Regions from separate parts of the Homo sapiens genome. Here region 2 is linked to region 1. Evidence: promoter capture Hi-C in 16 types of primary human blood cells and fetal thymus (Javierre and others, 2016). All regions are on one chromosome and are shown on one strand. Each heading gives the region's core, a stretch centred on a gene start or on the middle of the fragment in contact. The rest is flanking DNA. Distances are from core to core; before and after follow the strand shown.

Region 1 (6,633 bases), core at 1,055-3,554:
TTGGAAGAGTCTAGGTGAGAGCTCAGTTGCAGAGCTAGAGGTCCCATTGTTACAGGCAGGTCTTTGTTCTTAGTGCTCTCAAGATGGTGGTGAGCCGCTCCCAAGATGGCGGCAAGCCTTTTGTTCTCTGACCTGGGGTTCTTGGCCTCATGGATTCCATGGAATGGAACCTTGGGTCATGCAGTGAGTGTTATTGTTCTATTAGAAAACGTGGGTCAAGGAAGAGAACCACGGAACCCAGCGACTAGTGTTCAGTTAGATTAGGACAAACCCGGGCACTTAGCCATGCAGGAACAATGGCGAGCCTCTAGCCTGAACTGGAGCGGCAATGGGCGCCTCGCTGGATCAGGAGCGCAGCGGACTCCCTGCTGGATTCAGAGGGGTGGAAGTCAGCGGCGGGTCTGTGACGGCAGCAAACAGCAGTGGTGGATGGTGAGCAAAAGCTCAGCTCAAGCCGTAACAAACACAGACCAGAAGAGTGTGCAGCTGCAAAATTTAATAGAGTGAAAACAGAGCTCCCATACAATGGGAGAGGACCCAAAGGGGGTTGCCGCTCCCTGCTGGAATGCTTGGGTTTATATCCTGATCATTGTCCCTCCTCCTGTGCTCTCAGGTGATATATGATTTGACTATTTCTTTACCTCCTGCTTTTAACCTAATTTGTATTTTAGTGAGCCCTCTTTACTACCTGACTGGTAGGGTGTGAGCTGAGATGCAAGCCCCATGTTTAAAGGTAGGTGTAGTCACCTTCCCCAGCTAGGCTTAGGAATTCTTAGTCAGCCTAGGAAATCCAGCTAGTCCTGTCTCTCACCATCAGTTTCTCCAAAACAAGTGTTCTGAGACTTCAGGCAGAGGATTTCCCACCAAAGAAATGCCAGTGACTGTTACCAGAATAAGGACAAGAATATATGCCTGGTCAGCAGATGTCCACCCCACCTCCCCATGACCCTTCATAACCCTTTTGCAAGATTCCATCCTGTTGCCCTTCTTAAAATTCTGCATTCCTGCCTTCCATCACACAGACCTGTGGTCTCCCTTCTCTCTGACCACTCTGTCTCTTCTTCCTCCTCCTCCCCTATAAGCAAAGGGATGGTCCAGGATTCAGTGTAAGCCTATCCCTCATAGCTTAACCACAGGGAGTGCATTCCTTCATCCTCTCTGTGCCTTTACACGCTCTGTTCACTCTACCTGGAGCACTATGTCCTCTTCCCACCACTCACCTCTGCGTGTTCACATTCTCTGTATCCTAGTTCAAATACCTCTTCACAAATCTTCCATATCTGATGTCTTTAAGCCAGAAATAAACTCACTCTTTCCTCTAAATTCTTATCTTTATCCCTTCTCAAAGATAGAATGTTCTGTTTTATATATTGAAATATGAATGTGTGTCACTGTTGGCTGTTAGCTACTTGAGGGTGGAAATGTGGTTTATCTTTCCCACTTAGCCCTCTAGCCAATCCCCCTAGTCAGGTAAGCTTTGTAGTCCTTACAAAGCCAGTATTTAAGTGAATTTGCATGGTGCTTCCCACTTTATTAGGGTGTATTCACAGCCATGATCATATTTGCTTCTCAAAGCAAATATGGAAGGCAAGAACAAGTATTAATCAATTTTATATATGAGAAAACTGAGGAACCAAGAGAATAAAAGATTTAACTGAAGATCTCTAAACTGGTTTTGTGGAAAAGCTGGGAGTAGAAATTTAAATCTTTAGAGTTACAGTACCGGTTATTTTCCAAGAAACACTTGCTGGTATGTGTTGTATCATTAAACTGTGGAGAATAGTTGACACCAAGTCGTTTTCTTTCAAATACATTAAATATTTTACTCTGATCCTTCCCTGTGTCTGCCAATTACTGGGATTATATGATAATTTGCTCCTCGCTTAAGAACATTTAACAGGAAACCCAGATCGAGTGGCTCTGTTCTGGCTTGGGTGGGTTTGGGTATTTTTGTTGCTGCTTCTAGTGATGGTTCTTGCTTTCTTTCTCCCTCTGGATCTGTCTTTTGGTACAAACACACCCCCAACCAAGGGAAAGGGTGAGGTGGATTTCTTTCCCTTTAGCACCTAATCTTATGATGAAAAACGCAGGTTCCTTTCTCTTAAAATTCCAAGATCTTTCCCTTCCAATGACTCCGAAGCCTGGGTGGATACCTCAACTCAGGGCGCAGAACACTTGGGGTCTGAGTGTGCAAGGACCATGCGGACCTGTTCAATCCCGGCCTTTGGGCTCCAGCCCAGCCTTCCCGGGGGGAGGAGCCGCATATGCGGCCAGGTCATAAACCCGTCAGGCCGCCGGGCTCCGGATTTGCAGCCTGAGGCAGAGCTCGGGGGCTGTCGGTGGGGACCTTGCAGGAGGGCACCCCAAGCCCGCCCGGCCCGCCCAACCCAGCCCCTGCGCGCAGCCCGGGCCGAGTAGGACCCCGCGCGCCCCTCGCTATGGCGGCGCCCTCGCGGCTCCTGATCCGCGGGGGTCGCGTGGTCAACGATGACTTCTCGGAGGTGGCCGACGTGCTGGTGGAGGACGGCGTGGTGCGGGCACTCGGGCACGACCTGCTGCCTCCCGGGGGCGCTCCTGCGGGGCTGCGGGTCCTCGACGCCGCCGGCAAGCTCGTCCTGCCCGGAGGCATCGACACACACACGCACATGCAGTTCCCCTTCATGGGCTCGCGGTCCATCGACGACTTCCACCAGGGCACCAAGGTACCCGCCCCGCCGCGCCCCCGCCCCGCGGTACCCACGGAGGCTCGGGCAGCCTCCCCAGTCGTCCCGGGGTCCTCAGCAGGGCCGCCTCGCGCGGCGCGGCGCCGAGGAGCTGGGTGGGCGGGAAGGAGCGCAGCCCCGGCGGGTGTCAGAGGGGACTCAGATTCTCTTCGCTGGGGTCCCTTTCAGGCGCCCCTTCTCGGCGGCAGCCGAGCAGCCTTGGCTCAACCAGATGCCCTCGACTCCTCCTTTAGTGGTTAATTTGACGAGTTTAAGGCCATCCCCTTACCCTAATTTCTCTATACCGCTTACTCCCCAAATCTCCCCGCAACCCCATTTTGATTGGTGTTCTGTGGAAGTCGCAAATCTTCCATACATTCTTTAGAATCTTTTTTTAAAGTAGGCACTTCCAGCCATTTCTCCCAACCATTTCGACCCATCCTTTATCCCCAACCAAAACCAAATGAAAAATCCATTCACCTGGTAGTTACAGCCTTGACTCAAAGTGAGCAGTGTAGCAGGTAATGTGTCTGAGTAGGCTAGATGCCCACCGTGTTCACGTTCCCGTCCCCTACCCTCTGCCCCCACTCCCACCCCCAGTAGAAAAAATATAGCCCCGACCAGGGTTTAGAAGAGAAAGTATTCCAGAAATGATCTCGCAACACTCACACACACCAACGCAGCCTCGCAGCAGGCTCTTTTCTCCATCCCACTTGCGCTGGGGACACAACATTCTTGCTGCTGGAGTACCCATAGTTTTACTGATGTTGCAGGAGGGTAATCAGATCACCACTCCCCAGGTGAAGGTAGGCTTGGGTTTCTCTAGATACAAAGGCCTAGAAGTTTGGGTCAATGAAAGGAAACTTAAACCAAACTTGTCCAACCTGTAGGCCGCATGCAGCCCAGGACAGCTTTGAATGCGGCCCAACACAAATTCATAAACTTTCTTAAAACATTATGAGATTTTTTTTCTTAGTTCATTGGCTGTCGTTAGTGTTAGTATATTTCATGTGTGGCCCAAGACAAGAGAAGCCAAAGATTGGACACCCCTGCAACATTTCCCCAAAGCTCCTCAACACAAGATCAAGAGACTAACAGAGCAGCTTTACAGGAACATAGAGTAAAAATTCTACTCTCAGCACTTGGGCTAAAGTAAAGCCCACATCCTCCCTAAGTCCTGTGTTTTGAGCTGCCTTGAGAGAAATGGCTCCTTCCAAAGTGAAGATGTATTGATATACTAAAGGCCTTGGCTTTTCACTTGGACCATACCTTGATGTGTGAAACAAGTTGGGCTATTAAGTCCAGTGTATAGTAGGCTTCCTTCCTCCCTCCCTCCTTCTCTCCATCACTCCCTCCCTTCTTTCTCCCCCCACTACCCCCTCCACCCCTCTCTTTCTTTCTATTCCCATGTTACTGTGGACAGGCTGACAGTCTTCCAAAGCAGTTTTGGTGATAGCTACTTCATTCATATACTGATTTCTGACAGTTTTGCTCTCCTTACACCTCCCCCTCTCCAAGTTCCCCAATCCTCTATAATTGACTGGAATGATTAACAGAAAAAAAGGAAGGCAGGTAGATTTGACCCAGAGAGAAGGATCTGGGCAGGCTGCTCAAATCACCATTTGGAAAGCTTCTTCCTGATTACTAATTATCAACCTATATCTTTATGTCAATAAAGTCTTTTGTAGGACAGATTGTTGTATGGTTTGAAAATTAGCAAACTTTGTTTTGTTTATTCATTTTTCCCTTTTGCTAAAAAGTAATATGCACTGAATTTGAATGAACTTATTTTTCCATTTTAAAGAATTTTTTAGCTATCAAAACAATATGTGATTGTAGGAAACAATTGGAAAAATAATAGGAAAATTAAAAGAAGCAAAACATTAATAATACTCTCCCTCTCAGTGACAGCCAATGTTTTGGTGTATTGCCTTTATGCTTTTTAGCATGCTCTATTTTACATAATCGATATCATATTGTGCATGTGTCTGTGTGTGTACACCTATATTTAAAATGTCAGAACTTGCAGTTTTCAGTCATAGTGCAAGCCCTTTCTGTTATTACAGACTTATCATTAACAAAGTGCTTTGCTGATGGCAGGGCATCCCATTGAACACTCCCACCTGCAAGGTGGGGAGCTGCTATTTCTGACCATGAGTTGCCCACTAGCATCATTCTCCCTCTTACAGCTGAGCAGTAGCTTTCATTCTCTTTCTGCCATCAGGGTTCCAGATGAAGCAGCAAAGAAGAGGAAGTGGAATGCTGTGGGGGAGGGGCATTCCCTCTCTTTCTCAAGATTATCTTTGCGTGCCCCAAGGTCCTGGGAAGTGGTTCTTGGTCTTCTATCTTTTCCTTAGCCATTCTGGGATTCTCTAGTTCAGAGAGATTTATAATTCTTAACTGAGAATGTAGGTCCTTATGGCGTATAGTCTGTTGTCAACATCTCAAAGGATTTATCCACCAGCTGATCCTCTAAGCATTTCTGTACTTAAAGGTTGTGAAAACATTAAACAAAAACATGTTCTTCATGAGCTTAGGATCTTAAACAAAAAATGATACGGTCAGAGATATTAAGGTCAAAGGTTTAGCAAATACCAAATTCCTGTTGAATATTAAACAGTACTTACAAAGGGGCTGTGTTGCAATAGTCTAGTTCAGAGTCAGTTGGTTGGATCCCAAGAGGTAACCACTCCCACCCCCCGAAACAGCTGAGGCTTCATAAAGTGAACCAGATGGGGAAATATAGATAAACATAAACATTACAGTATTGACCTGAATTCTGAAAGAAAGGCATTATAGAGTTATTTTGTCTTCTTTCCTGGCCTTTGCAATAATCCCCAAAGCAACGCTGGTGGGTGTTTGTTTTGGGGAGCTAGAGACAAAGATAGGCCTTTTGTAAATACTGGTTGTATGATATGTTAAACTTGAAAAACATCTTCCTATTATACCTTTAAGTAACATCTATTTTATCAAGTACATACCAGCCAATGCCCTAAGTTGTGCATTATCTTCCAAAAATCCCAGATGCCATTGTCTACTTTTTTACAATTGAGGAAATTGAAGCTTAAGCTACCTGCCTAAGGTTGTACACCTAGGGCTGTAACTCACTGAGTGGCTCTTCAAATTTAGTACTGCCTGACCCCGTCGCTAAAGCTGTTACCTATTAGTGTCTGTTCTTTTGAAAAAACATATAATGTTCAGATTTGTCAGGGTGGCAAGTGATAGATGACAGAGCCATATAAGTTGCATTTTAATGCGAGGCATCTTTTCTCAAAAATAGAGCAGAGCCGTCTTTAGAAAAGACAGTAACTCTTCACTTTCCTAAAGCTAGAGGCAGTTAAGGTTATCAAAATAAGTACACACTGCAGGTATTCAGTTTATAAGGCATTTGTATAATACATACATTTATAGCCATATCATTTGTAAGGGTACAGAAATGGACCTTAAGTACAGAAAAAGCATAAAGTAAAAATGATATATTATACTTTCAGGAAATGGGCCCCTAAAGTTTAGACCAATAGCTGTTTGCATTCTACATCCAGCAGGCTGATCATTTATAATACCTGACAAATACAAAAGGATATTATTTGTGGTACTCTATTTATCGATCACTAGATTGTGATGGGACTCAATTTTAAAAATGAATATACATTAACTAAAGGTTATTTATTTTGTAAATCTAATTCATGTCAGAGATTGGTTTAAAGCCTATAATTGATTAGCTTAATTACAGGTAAAAGCTTTCTGAAGTAACTAATGGAAATAATGTTCTGCTTTAAAGAAATCATATTTCATTTTGTTGGTCTATACCAGATGTACAGTGGTCTTCAGATAATTCAATATCTATGAGGAAGGACAATGGAATTTTTTATTCAATGGGTAGTATGAATTCAATAAATTTGAAAGAATCGTGACTTTGCTTTTACTACAT
Region 2 (6,633 bases), core at 1,717-4,216, 650 kb after region 1:
AACAGAAAGCATAGTTTAAAACACACTAGGCAAAATAAAGAGCCCTCATATTTTAAGATACTATAATTTTTAACGTGCAATGGGTTTTTCCATTTTTCCCTATAAGAAATGTTCACACATTTTTCTAAAATACTTACAATTTCTCAAATTTGAAAGCAAAACTAAAATTGTGGATGAGTCCTAGGAATTCTTTTGTTGGGGCCATGAATTTTTTGTGAGTAATTCATACATGGATAGGAAGAAAGCCTATAGCCCATATGAAATGAATTCATTTTACTATTTAGTGAGTAGTGCCAGAATTAAAGAAGTTTACTAGTAATTATTTTCAACTTTTAAAATCCTTTATGATCATACAGAAGTTGATAATTTAAAACTATAGTTAACATTTACCTGTCAGTCATCACCAAAAGCAGAAGCTTTATAAAACTTCTTTCAATAAAGAAAATGCTTAAAGACTGTAGATCAGTGTCAGATTAAGGACATATACTAATAATTGTAGTATATTGCTAAGGTCCACAGTAAATATTCTAGTGAAAATACTAATGACACACATATCTAAATCAAAAGCCATTTTGATTAGAAATCTAAATAGATAATTAATTGTGTTATAAGCTTTTATGCCTATAATGAATAATGTTATAGTTATAAAAATATTTTATAATAACAATTATGCATGTTCAATAAAGTATATATATATGTACATAAAATGTGTATATTAGATGATTGGATGCTTTATACCTCATAACACAGACTTTTCATGCAATATGAAAAATCAACTGTGCTGGAATCATACCAAGTCCAAACAATGCACACTGTGTAGATTGCACCCTGAGAACTATGAAAAGTAAGCATGCTGTTCTTTCAATGTCAAAGTAGTCATTAACGTACCATGATGAAGAATCATTATCTGTGCCAAAATTCCTGAACACAAATTACTGGTTTGATTACAAACCAAAGCAATAATAAATGCTACAGGAAAAACTAAGAATTTCTGACCAAAAATAATACTAAATAAACATTTATTTAGCAAGTCAGATTTTACTTAAAATATTAATGTTTTAGAACAGTGGCAATGTTTCAAAGGAAAAGAATCCGCTTAAACTAAGTGAATTTAAGCTTTACATTTCACTTTTATAATTAGAGTAGCCCTGTAATTTATTTTCAAATCACAACACTTTTTAGAGAGAATAGTACTAATAATAATCACTGGATGACTGCAGGCATAAACTGGGAGTACTCCAGACAAAGTGGATCGTATGGTTATCTTACTTGCAATTGAAAAAAAATCCAAATATTCTTCTGTCTACTAATATTTTTTCTTTTCTTACTTTTAAATATGAAAGTCTACATATCTCATTGTACGTATACGGAGAGAAAGACTGTTTTTAATATCTACTCTAAATAAATTCCAGTTTTATTATGCCTCTGTGTGGCCAGAAGTCACAGCAAATTCACTGTCACACATTCAGTGGCAAAAAAATAATTTCATCTAGAGGAAAATACAGATCTCTTCGTTGTATAAAAAAGACGGCTAAAAATTAGCAAATGGAAAAACTCAGAGGATCAATTTTATCACAAAAGATAGCCATCATTAGCATGTTTATTTGAATATTGCCCAAAGCAACTGATAACTCAATGCAGTGAACAATGCTAAAAAATATATCTTCTAGCGTCTCAATATTTATGTTTGCTTCCAAAGACAAGCTCACAAAAATTAGATTTCATATTGAACTCAGTACTTGATTTTTTTACTAATGACAAAAGCATTTATCTTTGTGTCCTGATTAAATAATTTCACTTGAGAGAGAGTTTACAATGAGAAAACTTGATAACAAAAAATTAAACTAAAGTGGCATTTCATCAAAACCTATCAAGTGAGTCAAGTGAGTTTATGCAGGATGCAGACACATGTTTTCTTTTTGCTAGACGTCCAGTTGTTTCATTTTAGCTGTAAAAGAACAGAGAATCCTGCTTCATGCACTAAAATGGTACTCAAGAACCATACAATAAGAGAATAAGCTAAACACTTTCAGTATGAAAATAAGGTTTGTGCTATATGGTTTCCAACAAAAAGTTAGTCTAAAATATTTTAATAATTATTACTCATAGATAAATTTCATTTAATCATTAGTTAATTAATTCACTTAAGAATCTATATTAATCTCCACTTTGGGGACTTATGACACATACAGTATTATTGGTTGGTTTAAAAATCTTTCCTCCTTTAACAAGTTGAACTTGGAAATGTTTCTGGAGCAGTTGTTATGGAAGATTTTCATCATTTAATGTTTTATTGCTAATATGTCATAGAAGTCAACTGCCTCACCATCTAAAATCCTAATGAAAGTTGAGTTGCAGATTTGGGGATAAGATTAGCTACCGAACAAAAGTCTTAGTTTAAAAACTACTTGAAAAGGCCCCCTTTTAATAATACATTGTCTACAAATGATGCATAGTACTATTCTAGTAATCCCTACTAGAAAGCAATTCAGAATAAAATATCTAATTGTCCAAATTGATGGCTTTTTTCTATCAATTTAAAGATCATTGTTAATGTCACAATACAAATATTGAATATTCCATGTCAACTAGTCCAAACAATTAAATGATTACTATTCATGTACTAATAACCAAAACTGTTCTTTCCAGAGGTGATAGTTATATAATTGATGCTTAAGAAGATCACAGATGTCTAATTGAAAGGTCCATTATTCAGAAAAAAAATCTAAATTCTTGCATATGAGATCTTTTGATGACATATTCAGGCCATTCTTCTTCCATGATTTTTTTCTTCAAGAATAATTTTTTAGTCTATACTAAAGTGGAAAGTCTTTACTTTCCACTTTAGTGTTAATTAAAATGTTAATACCTATGCAGGATGCATAGGCATTTATATTGTTTAAAAGAATATAAGCAGAATAAAAGGTTTAAAAGACCCTTGTATCTAAAGTGAACACAAAAAATAACCAAAAAATTAAAATATGTGGAAGCATAAAATTCATATACTTATTTTTTCACTCATCATACTTCTAAAACAATAACTATTTGCAGAACTTTTTGATTGACCTTAAAAGTAAATCAAGTAGCTGATGGGACATTTATGAAGATGCATAGATGTATTTGTGGTATAAGGGCAAATGATTTTTAAAGACTAATAAGAACATATAAAGGCCGAGATTTTTTTCCCCTAAAGCAAGATAAATTACTTATCGAGTAATTGGTAGTTTGGGATAGTTTTAGATAATAATCAATATAAGTTAAACCATACTGGTCGTATAGAAGCATTAAAAACTTCATAATCTTATGTTTAAGAGCAGCAGCATAAAAGTCCAGATTTTAATGAGAGCTTTAAAGGCTCTTACTGAAATTATAGGCATGCCAACAATAAAAGAAACTTGAAGCCAAAGCAAGTACACAGTGATAGGGATGCACACAATTCCCTCAAAAAATAGTTATTTTCAGATTTTTAAATTAATACTTTAAAACCAATTCCTTACTATGCTGTTAATAGCATAATTTCTATACCTAAACCCTAATATTAATACATTTACACACAAATTCTTGGCATTAAAAAAAAAGATGGAACTAAAACAAGGAAAAGGTTTATAAAGGATGAGTACAAATCCTAAAACTCTGGTAGCTTCAGGTCATGGAAATTTTTAGAAAGCAATACTTGCTTTTTAATTTAAATATAACATAAAATATATATTTTTATGATAAATTATAGACACTAAAGTGATGTATCACTTTAAAAAAGGAAAACAGCATCTTAAAATACAGATATCCAATTTAGAATATCCTAACATTTCATATACTGTTTGATGTTTTTAATTTGTCTCAAGATAAAATATAAACAAAATCCAATTAGTTTATTGAACAGAACTGGATTGAGGAAAGAAAGTGAAATTTTATAAGAAATAGATATGTTATCCCATTTTCAAAGTAAAGGTTATAAATATATTTATCATCAGTAAACATTTTAAATGCCAACAAATTTTAAAAGCCTTTTTTTCATTTGCTAAATTAAAATACATATTGTATAACCGGTATTTTTTTAATCTCCAAAATAGGATGCCTCACATTGTTCAGAGATACTAAGAAGAAGAGACAAGTAAAACCACTCAATATTTTATGCACTATTAGTTCCCCATCGGTTTCCAGAAGGTTTCAGTGCATTGCCATGTTCACAGAATTTCTTTCTCAGTCTTCTCCACATATATTTAGTTAAATGGGGTCTTTTTTTTACTAAGCATGTAACATGAGAAATTCTCAAAAGCCAAACAACTTAAATGAGGAAAGAACTGGATGATAAAACTGCATTCCAAAAACATTCTTTAATAGAATATCTTTTAGTGTAAGCCAGAGAAACCATCTGAGAGATATGTTCATAATTTAACAGCCTTCACCATAGAAAAATGATCAGGTTGAAAAAGCAATAGGAATTTATAACAAAGAATCCTGCCAAATTAGCTGACCTAATGCAAAGCATTATTCGCGGTTCCACAATATATCTTGTTTAAAAGTGATTATTGAGCTACCCAGCATAGAGAAATGTCTTAAACCTAGAAAACATCTTCCACATGTTTTACAGGAGCTAATTCACATTTTCAAACAAATCACATATGATTATATAGCCCCATCCTTATATATGCAATGTAATCACTGCCATGATCACAAAGAAAACATCTATCGGGCATTTTTAAGTCATTTTATGTATCTAGAAAACAAAATAATGAAACAGCCTGATATCTGTATTACGTTTCAGAGGTCAAGCTAGTTAAATTTAAGATGCTTTTTCTGGTTGAAGTAAGCTTATTTTCCTTCTTAAAATCAAATTAAGAATGCTATATAAAATTTTATATTTACAGTAAACAGATAACACCTTTATAACACTAGCACTTCAATACAAAACAATTTTTACTGGCATATAAGATTATTCTGAAAATAACAATATTAAAAGAAAATATAGTTTGGCTCTACTCACCTTGCATTGTTCAGTGTTTGTCCAAAAAGCTCATTTTGTAAGATATTTGGTGGGGATGAAAAAACCCCATGAAAATGAGATAAAACAGAATTGCAGACCTGGCGCAATGTCTCAAATTGCATTTTCTTTCTTTTTTTTTCCCCTTCTCTTATTTTTCCCTACCACCTGTCTTTAAAATCATCTATTTGCTGACACCATCAAATAAAAACACGCCAATCAAGTTCCATATTTCTCCTGAGCTCTGTAAAAACTGTGCTTAAATGAACAGAGGTTGATAGTTAATTGTACAGTCATTATTCTTCTAATTCAGTCGTAGAAGATTCAGTACCCGTGCAGCTTTCGGCTTTCTCCTGACTGTAGCAAGAATTCTAAACAGCAGTAAGCTTTTTGGGCATTCCCAGCTGAAGTGTGAAGCTGAGCTGCTTTCATGTACTCTACTCATATTTCTCTAAGCCTATTAAAAACATGCAATGAATAGATGCTGTCGTCAGGAGTTTTAGCACATCTGGCTGCCAGCAATAAAATATCAGAAGTAATAAAAATGGGGACAAGGTATCTTCTCAATGCTACTACTGGGTAAGAGTAAGAGAAATTATGCATTTCCCCAACCCTTTTCTCTTTTCCTGAAAAACAACTCCAGCAACAGCATATATCTCTTCAATGTGCAAGATGCTGCAAAGGACCAGAACACTCTAAAAATAAGTGGTATATTCTTCTTTTGATGTCATGAAGCAATAAAAATATGATCAACAATAGAGCATTTATCATCTGCATTTAAAATGCCATATTTCTAAGAGAAGTACATTTGGAAAACATGTACTTAGGTGTTTTAATTTCTTATTTTAAAATTTCTCCATTTATTTATTTTTAAAGAAAAGTGGATAATGTTGAATCTGGTCCTTTCTAAAGGCTATATACATAGTGACTACATGGTTATTCACATAATTTTAGAAAAACATTATAGCTTTTCAATTAAAATTCACCTAAACACCACACATTAAATTAAAACTTCCCTCCAAATCCAGGTGGGGGAAAAACCCTACAGTCAAGGCCAGAGACACTTTATCAATTATTACTAATTTATTTCAATAATGGTGGTCATAGCATTTTGTAGAAGAAAATGTTTCCTGAAGGCTCCTATGGTCTTGGAAAGCCACCCCATCATCATCTATTCTCAGTGAATAATTCTGTTTCTGATAAACATTTAGGTTATTCTATACCCAAGTACATCCATCTTTCCATAACAGATCTCTAAAACTAGTGTGTAAACCAAATTTTAAATATTAACTCACTTGCAGAGATGCTTAGTATTTTCATTGACTTTTAATAGCTCTTAACCTTTGACATTTCTTTAATAAATCCAGCCCTTTTTGCCCTTTTGACCTTAACTCTTTGCCCTTTTATCCCTTTCCATACACTATCAGTAAATAGACATTTAAATACATTAAGTTTTTAAAAGCTATGAATTCTTTTTTGGCATAATCATGTCACAAAAGAACAACACAAATTAAACATGTAATAATATAAATTTTTAAACAACCATTTTTTAAAATAAGATGTTCAATTATGGGTTTCTTCTCAACTAAGAGTGCCCCCATTTTATTTCAGTTTATTATTTTATTTTATTATTTCACTATTATTTATTATTT

The links. The method cuts DNA at HindIII sites, captures the fragments that hold promoters and counts their contacts. A CHiCAGO score of 5 or more calls a contact.
Region 2: a contact is called between a fragment that was not itself captured here and the fragment with the promoter of DPYS in region 1, in 1 of 17 cell types (monocytes). The highest score is 8.5, in monocytes.

What each region holds. Positions count from the first base shown.
Region 1 is chr8:104,462,726-104,469,358 of GRCh38, reverse strand. DPYS (dihydropyrimidinase) reads left to right here and starts at 2,304. Exons shown (of 10, transcript NM_001385.3): 1 at 2,304-2,702. The coding sequence starts at 2,439. LOC105375691 (a long non-coding RNA gene) reads right to left here and starts at 3,589. Exons shown (of 3, transcript XR_928507.3): 1 at 3,372-3,589. RefSeq lists an enhancer at 1-550. The HindIII fragment of the contact is 2,857 bases long and covers 1,478-4,334 here.
Region 2 is chr8:103,817,981-103,824,613 of GRCh38, reverse strand. The region is part of intron 6 of RIMS2 (regulating synaptic membrane exocytosis 2); the gene reads right to left. Among named protein-coding and RNA genes, the nearest start is that of RIMS2, 320 kb to the right of the region's middle. The HindIII fragment of the contact is 3,695 bases long and covers 1,119-4,813 here.